4 separate regions of the Homo sapiens genome follow, and all the other regions are linked to region 3. Evidence: promoter capture Hi-C in human tissues and cell types (Jung and others, 2019). All regions are on one chromosome and are shown on one strand. The core of a region is centred on a gene start or on the middle of the fragment in contact, and the rest is flanking DNA. Distances in the headings are between cores, read along the strand shown. Region 1 overlaps FMN1 (formin 1). Region 2 overlaps FMN1 (formin 1). Region 3 holds the start of GREM1 (gremlin 1, DAN family BMP antagonist). Region 4 overlaps FMN1 (formin 1).

The links. The method cuts DNA at HindIII sites, captures the fragments that hold promoters and counts their contacts. A contact is called where the count stands out against the background at its distance.
Region 1: a fragment that was not itself captured here is called in contact with the fragment with the promoter of GREM1 in region 3 in 1 of the 25 tissues and cell types used here (mesendoderm cells).
Region 2: a contact is called between a fragment that was not itself captured here and the fragment with the promoter of GREM1 in region 3, in 2 of the 25 tissues and cell types used here (heart right ventricle and thymus).
Region 4: a contact is called between a fragment that was not itself captured here and the fragment with the promoter of GREM1 in region 3, in 4 of the 25 tissues and cell types used here (dorsolateral prefrontal cortex, lymphoblastoid cells, mesendoderm cells and 1 more).

What each region holds. Positions count from the first base shown.
Region 1 is chr15:33,159,639-33,162,338 of GRCh38, reverse strand. All of the region lies in intron 3 of FMN1 (formin 1), which reads left to right. Among named protein-coding and RNA genes, the nearest start is that of FMN1, 34 kb to the left of the region's middle. The HindIII fragment of the contact is 3,813 bases long and covers 1-2,700 here.
Region 2 is chr15:33,049,169-33,051,868 of GRCh38, reverse strand. All of the region lies in intron 6 of FMN1 (formin 1), which reads left to right. Among named protein-coding and RNA genes, the nearest start is that of FMN1, 140 kb to the left of the region's middle. The HindIII fragment of the contact is 4,194 bases long and covers 1-2,700 here.
Region 3 is chr15:32,716,581-32,719,280 of GRCh38, reverse strand. It overlaps GREM1 (gremlin 1, DAN family BMP antagonist), which reads right to left and starts at 1,277. Exons shown (of 2, transcript NM_013372.7): 1 at 1,120-1,277. GREM1-AS1 (GREM1 antisense RNA 1) reads left to right here and starts at 416. Exons shown (of 2, transcript NR_109767.1): 1 at 416-736; 2 at 917-1,180. RefSeq lists enhancers at 1-554, 555-1,133, 1,271-1,771. The HindIII fragment of the contact is 12,229 bases long and covers 1-2,700 here.
Region 4 is chr15:33,075,480-33,078,179 of GRCh38, reverse strand. The region is part of intron 5 of FMN1 (formin 1); the gene reads left to right. It overlaps LOC124903459 (a long non-coding RNA gene), which reads right to left. Exons shown (of 2, transcript XR_007064574.1): 2 at 1,461-2,700. Among named protein-coding and RNA genes, the nearest start is that of FMN1, 120 kb to the left of the region's middle. The HindIII fragment of the contact is 4,514 bases long and covers 1-2,700 here.

The sequences.
Region 1 (2,700 bases), core at 142-2,641, 440 kb before region 3:
CCTACAGTGTGGAGGTTGTTTAAAGAAAAACCCCTCAGTGGCTCACCCCTGTAATCCCAGCACTTTGGGAGGCTAAGGTGGGCAGATCACTTGAGCTCGGGAGTTTGAGACCAGGCTGCACAACATGGCAAAACCCTGTCTCTACAAAATATACAAAAATTATCTGGGCATGATGGCATGTACCTGTTTTCCCAGCTACTTGGAGGAGCTGAGGTAGGAGAATTGCCTGGGCCCAGAAGCTGGAGGTTGCAGTGAGCTGAGATCACGCCACTGCACTGCAGCGTGGGTGACAGAGCGAGACCCTATCTCAGAAAGAAGAAAAACAAAAAGGAAAGCAAAGAGAAGAAAAACTCCATGGAAAGAAGAAGAGCCATTAACCTATTGCAGAACTTCCTTTTTTTTTTTTTCTTTTTTGTTTTTTGAGACGGAGTCTTGCTCTGTCACCCAGGCTGGAGTGCAGTGGCACGATCTCGTCTCATTGCAAGCTCCACCTCCCGGGTTCACGCCATTCTCCTGCCTCAGCCTCCTGAGTAGCTGGGACTACAGGTGCTCGCCACCACACCTGGCTAATATTTTGTATTTTTAGTGGAGACGGGGTTTCACCGTGTTGGCCAGGGTGGTCTCGATCTCCTGACCTTGTGATCCGCCCGCCTCAGCCTCCCAAAGTGCTGGGATTACAGGCGTGAGCCACTGCGCCCAGCCTTCCTTTGTTTTTTTAATCTACTCTTTGAAAAAGCTGCACTCCATCCCAGGGTGGATGGAAAGGAGAAAGGCAGGCAATAACTTGTCCAAAATCACACAGGAGAGGCAGAATTCAAAGCCATCTAGGACTAAATGAGCAAGGGGAGGGGGCAGTAATGGTACTCAGAGAAAGCAGCTGCAGCTGGAGGAGAACTACCCCAGAGGAGCGTGGTCTTCATTAGAGGGCACGCCTACTACCAAACTATAGCCCAGGAGATAGGGAGTCAGGGGATAAAGGTCCCGAGCCCTCTTCCATCTGCCCTCCAATCTGTTACTGTTTCCCAATGGCTAAATCTAGTAGAAGCCACAGGGCAAGGAAACTTGTTGATTGAGTTCATAAAAGTCAGTCTCTTGGTCTTAGGAGGGTGTGAAAGGTAGAGTGTGAATTTGACTGAACTAATAAAAATTTTCCAGTTTAGAAATGGAATACAGGTAATCTGTCTTAGCCGTGTTGGGCTCAGATGGAGTCACAGGGAAAGACTGTGCCAATGACTAGGCAAAGAAAGCTTTGCATTGGCCTTTTAAGGCCAAAATCAATTAGGATGTCTGCCGTCAGCAGACAGAATGACGACAACTAATTCTTGAATCTTATTTTTAGCATTGGTGAAATATGCTATGAACAATAGATAGCATCTACTAAAAGGCAATCATTTCTCATTAGGATGAGGCAGAACAGATATTTCCATTTGGGGTAGAGTGAGGTAATCTACTTGTTTATTGGAAAAAGAATCAAGGGAGAAATCACTGCTGCAATGTTGTCATAGACAGAATGCCAGCCTGGAGCCTGTCAGAGGAAATAGAAGACACGAAGACTCCCTGGGAAGCAAAGTGCTTTTACCTTGAACATAACCAGAGCAGGTCACTTCACAGGCCAAATTAAGATGTATAATTTAGTGTGTGCCTCTGCAGAGCCGCTGCATTTGAGTCCAAGTAGAATGAGGCAATGCTGTTTGAAATAGTCCTGTGAACTCAGCATGGAATTGCAATGCCAGTGTATTTAACCCCAATGCACAGTGATTTCCTGTCCTTTTGCTTTTTTTCTCTTAGGACTTACTGCTCTTTTTCCTCTGGTTTCTTGGATGAAAAATATGTGTGATGATTCCATACTGCATTCTGACTTTCTAATGGGTTGTCACAGAGAAGAGTTTGCCCTGGTCTAAAGCCTTCTTCTGACATGGAACACTCTAGAGGGTTGAGGTTGAAGTTCATTTGCTCAGGGAAGATCCTTTTTTGTTGAAACAACCAGCTAGTCAACCTGGTTTGGCTCAGTCCTCCAGTTCCAATGAGCCTCCTGTGGGTTGTGGTTTTCATGTCAGTTCCATTTTCAAAGCTTTTGCAGTGTTCCATCCCATGTATGTGCCACCCAGTGGCCAGCCTAGGCCCTGGGAAGTTGTCTTATCTCTTCATTTTTTTTCAAAGCCCTTCGTATGGTGTTTAAGTTCAGATCCACAATCCACAGGCTGGGGTTAATTCAGGTATCCATGAACAACTTTATGGGTCACTTTCTAAGATCCTTCTCCATAATCTTTCCCATACTTCTGGGCTCTCTGAGGCTCTGATTTCAGTCCTCTAACTAGAAATCTAGGACTACTAACCCTCCAACTCTTTGGCTGCAAACTTCCTGCAACTCTGCCCACACCCGAAATCAACGAGAGGCAGAACAGAGTGAGAGAAAAAGAAATAGGGTTTTCCCCCATACATCTTGGGACTACAGTTCCTCTAATCATAGAGAAATGTTCTCCTCCCTCAGAGTTTTAGGTGCCAACAAGAAAACTTCTTTCTATTCTTGATTCTGAATTACAGGACTCCTCCTATATCTTCCTCTGTTTGTGCTGATATTCACTGCCATGTTTCAGGCACATTTGAGTCCAGGCTTAGGGGCTACTGAAGGACAAAGTTGAGAAAGTTAGCTGCTTTACAGTTGGTTGATACTTCAAAGCCTGGTCTTCCTCATCAACC
Region 2 (2,700 bases), core at 117-2,616, 330 kb before region 3:
TTGACTTGGGGTTTTATATGTTGGTATGCTTCCGGGGTCTTGCGTCCTTCTCCCCGGATTCCTCCCTTGGAGTGGGCTATCAGCATGTGCAGTGGCCTGCCAGCACTTGGGAGGGGCTGCATGTACAGTGTGTTTATTGGAGTTGTACACGTGCTCACTTGAGGCATTTTTCCCTAACCAGTCAAGCGTTTCTAGAGGAAGGTCATATACCAGCTAAAAACTCTGCTGTTTTGCCTCTTCATGCCCATGCTTGAGCCCACTCACCCAACTCCTGAGATCTTACTAGGAAGCTGCTGATCACCAGTTTCAGGTGTTTATATCTATTGGGAGACTGCCTTTCTCTGGCACCAGGTGTGACCAATTATTAGAGCGGCACTGTCACAACCACCTATCACCTGATGGTTGCCCGACATCCTGGTGGTGGCAGGGGACCCTCTCCTGCCCTGCTCATGTCTGACTAGCTACCTACTGTAACAACAGAACCAGGACTAGAAAGTTGGTCTTCTGACTTCCAGTTTAGTTTTTTCTTTCCATTTTTAATGTGGCCCCCATTTCTTTCAGCCCAGCCATAATTCACCTTAACCTTTCCCAGACTGTTTTATTCAATTCTGATTAAAGAGGACACATCTGATTCTCAGGAAGGATAGAAGGAAGCAGTGTAAAAAATCCAAGGAACATACCCTGGAATGATCATACCTAATTCAGAGAATGGTATATATATAGAGGAAAAAGCAAAAATCATCCTTCACTCTATATCCCCCGATCCCTCTGCCTTCTTAAAGGGGGGGTCCTTGTGAACAGTTACTTACATTGCTTCTCACACACTTGTATATGCACTCATGAATACGTATACACTGAGTGGCACATCACAAAATATTTCCACACAAGTGGGGTCATACTATAAAATCTGTTCTAAGATGAGCTGCTTTTTACCATATACTGAAACCTTTCTATGTCAGTGCATACAGGGCACTCTCCCTCTTCCTCATTATTTTAATGGCTGCATAGTATTCCATACAGTAGTAATTTATAGACCTATGCCTGTAGTAATGAACCTTTTGATTGCTCAGAATCTTTCACTGTTTGCAAATAATGCTGTCATTAAATTCTTGTATATTTGGTTTATGCATACCTGTGAGTACCTTGATAGGACTGAAGTGGAATTGTTGTGTCCTGGCCCATTACTTGGTAGATACTACACAGTTGGCCTCTCAGAATATTAAACCAAAGAAAGAATGCCCATTACTCATACTTCACCAGCATTTATTTAATTTATGCCTATGTAATGGGTTAAAAATCACACACTGTTTTTTAAATTTGTATTTTTCTGATATAAGTGGTGTTGGACATCTTTTCATTTATTGACCAGTTGGATTTCTTATGAGCTTCCTGGTGTTCTTGGTCCTTTTGAAAATGAGGTTCTTAGTCATTTTTCTTACTGATTTGAAGAAGCTTTCTATGTATTAAAAAAAAAATCCTTTTATCATTGTATGTATTGGAATCTTAGGCTCTAACTTGCCATGACTCTTCTTTCATGGTGTCTTTCATTATACAAAAGTTTTATGTAGTGAAATCTGGTCTAAAGGAAGCATTTTCCAACCTAAAGTTTAACAATATGTATACAGATGCTTCTTGACTTACAATAGGGTTATGTTCTGATAAACATAAGTTGAGAATATTGTAAGTCAAAATACACGTTATACGCCTAACCTACTGAACATCACCTTAGCCAAGCCTACCTTAAATATGCTCAGAACACACTTTAGCCAACAGTTGGGCAGAATCATTGAACACAAAGCCTATTTTGTAATAAAGTGTTGAATATCTAATATAATTTGTTGAATACTGTACCAGAAGTGAAAAATAGAATGGTTATATTGGTTGTGTTAAAAGAAAAAACTTCAGCTGAATTAAATTTAAAGGAGTTTAATTGAACAATAAACAATTCGTGAATTGAGCAGCCCCTAGAATCATGGCAGAATCAGGGAGACTCCAGTGCAGCCATGTGGTGGAACAACAATTATAGACAGCAAAAGGAAAGTGACGTACAGAAAACATAAGTGAAGTACAGAAGCAACGGGATTAATTAGAGCTTAGTGTTTGCCTTATTTGAACACGATTTGGACAGTTGGCTACATTTTATTGGCTAAAACTCAGTGATTGGCACAGGTGTTGGCTGAGGTCAGTTTACATCTCCACTTGTTATAGTTCACGATGTATAGAAAAACCTGTAGGCTGAACTTAAATATGTAAGAAGGTAGCTTTAGACTAAACTTGATTTAACAATTCCCCTCTTTTGGTCATTTTCTCAATTTTGAGAGATTGACCAAAACTTTAGTCATTACTATCACTATCACCATCATAAATTACTAATTTGGTCTTGAAACCCCCTGGAAACAGAACTGTGAGTTTTGCAAAGGTAGGAACAAGGACTTGAGTAGAGGGTATCCCCTTATGTTGGAACATCTTGTTTTTAGGAGAACAAACCTGGTCTGTTCTGGTCTAGGAGCTATGTGTTTCCTTAAAGTCTCAGTTTGATAATGTCACATTTACCACAAGTGACTTCATTTTTGTTTGGTTTTGTCTGTTGGGGCCTAATGCATGAGCTAAGTCCAAAACAAGGGCCTCCCATAATTTTGTTTAAAAAAAATTCCCCCTTTCTGGTTAGGTTCTCACTTAGGTTACAATGTGACCAAAACT
Region 3 (2,700 bases), core at 28-2,527:
AGGCAATGCCAAGCGAGAGCGGTGGCGCGTCTGTTCTTCCGGAGTCTGTAGTCTACAAATAACTCCGGCCAGCAAGGAGGTGACAGCCCCAATATACCTCCCACTCCCCTGCTATGGCCTTGCTCCGCAAGCTGTGGAGGGGCCAGCGGAGCCAGCCAGGCAGCGAGAGAGAACGAAAGACGCCCAGCTCGTTGCAGCCGCCAACCCGCCTCAGCCGCCAGTCCCTAGTCCTCAGGAGCTAGTGAGGCGCTGCAAGGCGAGGCTGGGGCCTCTAGAACACAGTTTAAGGGGTGCGCGCGGAAGTGGGAACCAGCCGGTGGCCGCTGCCCGGCGCCAGAACGTCTACCATTCAGCCCGGGCGTGCGCGGGGCGGGGAAGAGGCTGGAGTAGAGAAGCGAGCGCCCGCGAGTGCGTGGCCGGTCCGCGAGCGCGTGTGGTGTCTGCCTTGTGAGCACTGCGGGTTCGCTGGACCCCGCGGCCAGGGCCGCGCCCCGCACCGCAGCTGTCGGATTACCCACCGTTCGGTTTTCCGCTGTGGCTGAACACAGCGGCTCTGCCCTTGCCAGTCTCCATCTCACCTCGGGGATCGGCAAATGCACACATCATGGATTCTCCGGATGCTCCAACCCGCGGACTCCAATGGGCGCCCCAAGACGCCCCCAGACCCAGCGCGGCGCCCCAAGCACATGGGACCCTCTCAAGGCAACTCGCCGCGCAGTCAGCGGCCGACTAGCAGGTCCGGATGCTCCTGCGCTCTGGCGGCCTGGACTTCGCGCCCTCGCTAAGCGGGCGCGTCTGCCAGGCGCTGCTGCCACCAGCACCAGGAGCGTGTTCGGGGGCCTCCGGGAGGTGGAAACGGGATGTGGGGGTCATCCTGCCCGCTCCTGACAACTTTTTTTCCTACGTTTCCCTGCAGACCCAGAGCAGCGAGGTCACGGTGTCCGCGGCCTCAGCAGGAAGGACCCCGCGATGGTTCTTCACAATTCACCCCCGCGAACAACGCACCCGAGCCTGCGCGCACGGAGGGCTGCCGCGCGTGGAACTGAGCGGGTCCTGGGTTGGTTTGCGGCCCTCTTCCCTCCGCCCACTCACATCCCTGCCGGGTGCGTCCGCGCTCACCTGTCAGTGCGGCGGGTCCTCGGGGCCTGCGCTTTCGACGCGTGGCGCTGAGTGCGGCCGCGGCCAGAGCCGCCGGGGCTCGGCGCGGGGTCAGCGGGACCGAGAGTGACGCGGCGGCCGTGCACTGGGTCGCCCGGTCCGCGGAAGGCGCACCGAGTGCCAGGCATCGCGCCGTCTCCCGTTTAAATGCCGGCGGCAGAGCGCGGCGCCCGGGGCCGCGCCTCTCCATTGGCCAGGCGCCGCCGCCGCCGCCAGACCCGCTATCCGCCCCCTTTCCCGGTACTGCCCCCGCCCCCCGCACCCCTCCTGCTTCCCCGCGGGGTCCCCTCTCCGCCCGCCTCGCCTCTTTGTCTGCTCCCCCCGCCCGGGCCGGCTGGGAGAGGTCACCCCAGGGAACCGCGCCTGGAATGCACAGCAAATCACATTTTCCGCTCCCGTTGGAGAGGGAAGAGCGGGAGGAAATCCCCCCGGCTGGCGGCCCCTCATTCCTTCTCTGCCCCAGGTCTGGGCTTTCCCTGTCGGCCGCCCGGCATCGCCTGCGTTGGTCCCGCGCTCAGTAGCGGAGACTGCGCTGGGAAGAGCGAGATCTCCGTGGGATCGTGCCAGATTCGGCCATTCTTCCCCTCTGGAGGGAACGGGACTGCGGGATGCTCTGGTCGAGCGGCCGTCGTGGCTCCCCGGCGGCCCCGCCCGAGGCCCCCAACTTCGAGGGCGCTGACCCCGGCGCCCCCGTTAACCTGGCGGGCTCGCTGGCCGCCAGCAGGAGCCTGTCGCCAACATGACACCCTGCTCTCCTCGCCCGCCAAGGGTTCTTTCAGCCCAGATGCCGGCGGCCTCCCCTGTGAGTGTACAGAGGGGAGTCACGGGAGGAGAATAAAACTAAATGACCGTCAAAAGTCAAGGCTTCTGTTCCTAAATTATCTTAAGAGACAGAGAGAAAACAGCCACTGGGCGAGAGGGGTTTTCTGTAGCATATCAAAGACGAATAAGTCAGGAAAATAAAACGTTAGATGAGGAAGTAACTTCCCAGAAATTTAGGACAAAAACCTACCGACGTGTAAAACCAATGTCACATTCCGGATACCAAGTACATAAATAGTTTTCGAAAGATGAGCGAACACTTTCATTTGTTCTCTTAGCCTGAAAAATTGGTTCCTCAAAGAGGCCGTAAGTTTTGTGTGTTGAAGCTAAAGTCCGTGCAAAAATTAACACGTCTGCAAGATCTGCAGACCAGCTCCATCAGCCACGTCAAATGAAGACTTTGAAAAAGATTTGCTACAGAAGGAAATATGAAGGTGTCTGTATTGTCTAACGCGAAATAAACAAAACAATGAAATCCATCAAAAGATACTTACGAAACACCCGTAATTTAAGTACTTGACTAGGAAAACAAAACCAGACCAGAAAACAGCCTATTTTTTTTTTCTCTTTAGTCCGGCGTTAGGGGGAAGAAGCAAGAAACATCTACTAGATGCTGTTAGGAACGTGAAATAGATATTTTTAAATAAATGAAGCAAGAAGGACGTCTGCATTAGTATCCTTAAAATCTTAGTCCTCTCAATGTTTTGTTTGTGCAGATGG
Region 4 (2,700 bases), core at 67-2,566, 360 kb before region 3:
GCGTGGATGCTATCTTAGAGACGTTAAAGAACCTGCCTCAAGTGACAAAAAGCTAGTGTGTGACTAGTAATATCTCATGCTAAACCCCAATATGTCCCTTTTCAAAGACATAGCCTTATTGCCTCTACTTTTTCTCTGCTCTCTGTTTAAGAATTGGTGTTCCTATTTCTCCACATCCTCTCCAGCACCTGTTGTTTCCTAACTTTTTAATGATCGCCATTCTAACTGGTGTGAGATGGTATCTCATTGTGGTTTAGATTTGCATTTTTCTGATGGCCAGTGATGATGAGCATTTTTTCATGTGTCTTTTGGCTGCATAAATATCTTCTTTTGAGAAGTGTCTGTTCATATCCTTTGCCCACTTTTTGATGTTTTTTTTTTTTTTTGTAAATTTGTTTGAGTTCTTTGTAGATTCTGGATATTAGCCCTTTGTCAGATGAGTAGGTTGCAAAAATTTTCTCCCATGCAGCCATAAAAAATGATGAATTCATGGCCTTTGTAGAGACATGGATGAAGCTGGAAACCATCATTCTCAGCAAACTGTTGCAAGGAGAAAAAAACCAAACACTGCATGTTCCCACTCATGGATGGGAATTGAACAGTGAGAACACATGGACATAGGAAGGGGAACATCACACACCGGGGCCTGTTGTGGAGTCAGGGGAAGGGGGAGGGATAGCATTATGAGATATACCTAAGGTAAATGACGAGTTATTGGGTACAGCACACCAACGTGGCACATGTATACATATGTAACAAACCTGCATGTTGTGCACATGTTCCCTAGAACTTAAAGTATAATAAAAAAAATATATATATATATATTAAAAAAAAAAAAAAGGATGGGCCGGGCGCAGTGGCTCACACTTGTAATCCCAGTGCTTTAGGAGGCCAAGGCAGGTGGATCGCTTGAGCCCAGGAGTTTGAAACCAGCCTGAGCAACATAGAGAAACCCTATCTCTAGAAAACAAAACAAAACAAAAATTAGCCAGGCATGGTGGCATGCACGTGTGGTCCCAGCTACTCGGGGCTGAGGCAGGAAGATGGCTTGCGCCCTGGGAGGCAGATGTTGTGGTGAACTGAGATTGCCCCCACTGCACTCCAGCCTAGGCGACAGAGCAAGACTCTGTCTCAAAAAAATTGGATCATAGCTGTGGCAATGCCTGACTTACCTTCTCCTTTGCAATTTTAGTGCATTGACATTTGTTTCAACAGTTTTCTTTTTAAATGTCTGAATTAATCATGTGGGTATTAGGATCAAAGAATCATTGCTGATTCAGGATTCATTTGTGACCTTTCTACCCTCTGTAAACCTCTAATTTCAGTAGCCATTTGGTTCTGAGTAACCAGCAGATCTATTTTGCCTCCCTTCCTATGTTTAGTAGGAAAGAAAACTGTTATAAAATACCGTAGTTTTTTTTATTTATTGTCATGAAAAGAAACATTTAGAATCAGATGGATCCAGTGCAAATGCTGGCTTTATTGCAGAAAGTTTCATTGGACAGTAATAATCTGTCAAATGCAATTAATGACATCTTTCTCATAGAGTTATGGAGAGGGTGAGGCTGCAAGAAAACTTGCATAAAGAACCGAGCATGGTGCCTACTTGGAACAGCATGCATGCTCCTCCCATCCATCTTCATTTTCTTTTGGGTAAATCCCCACCTTCCCTAGATTTTCTTTTGTCCCCTTTAAAAATATTTTGAAATGATACCTGGATCTTTGGAGTTCGAACTAATATTCTCAAGATAACTTTTACTTTAAAAAAATTAAGGAAAAGAAAAAGTTATAGCAGTAGCCATGAAGTGCCTCGCTTTACTGCATGAGAAGAAGGGAATATAGGCAACAGGCATAAGTAGTCTAATAAATTCCAGGTCTTCATCTTTTATCAGGAGCAACTTAGTCACAATGAAATGCTTTCACCATAGACTCCATGCCTTCTGCTGTCATTAGCCATATGGAACAGCAATATTATGCCTTCACTTTGGGAAAGCTCAAAGCTCTTCTGAAACACATCCCAGGAAATTCTGTACTTTAAAGACTGCTACCCACCAACCCTCATCCCCCTGCCCCCCAGCTTCAGAAGTCACAGCCTTTCTCTCCCCTTTTACATTATTTTACTTTGTCATCAATATTAAATCCATTTCTAGAGGACCTTTGACACTGGTTGGTGGAACAACCCAGTCTTAGAAATATTTGAGAGTAGGATTCTAGCCAGTAATGTAATAACTATTTCAAAGTTGATTTTCATGTCTGTAATCTTTTATTTCATTTGTAATGAAGCAGCACTTTTGAAGTCTAATGAATTGACCCCAAACCAAAAATAAATGAATAAATAAAATGGCTGGTGCTCTGCTATGGAGGACCCAGGCTTGCTCATTGTCTCAGAAGAGTCCTTCCCCAAAGAAGGGAAAATGTCAGTGCTAAGGCACCTAGTCTCATTTTCAGCATGCTTTTTCTCATGAGAAAAGGATGGAAGAAACCCCAAATTCATGGATTTTTTTTTTCTCTCAAATAACTGAGTTGGTTTAAAAATCATGTTGGAGCTTGGGAAACAAAATAAAGAACAGGGCAAACTTTGTCACCTTATGCAGTGGCCACTTGAGAAAACTTTATTCTCTTCTCAAGTGACACAGATGGAAGAATCCAATCCAGAAAACACTGGCCCTGCAACACCCAAAGGGATCCCTTGGAAGAATT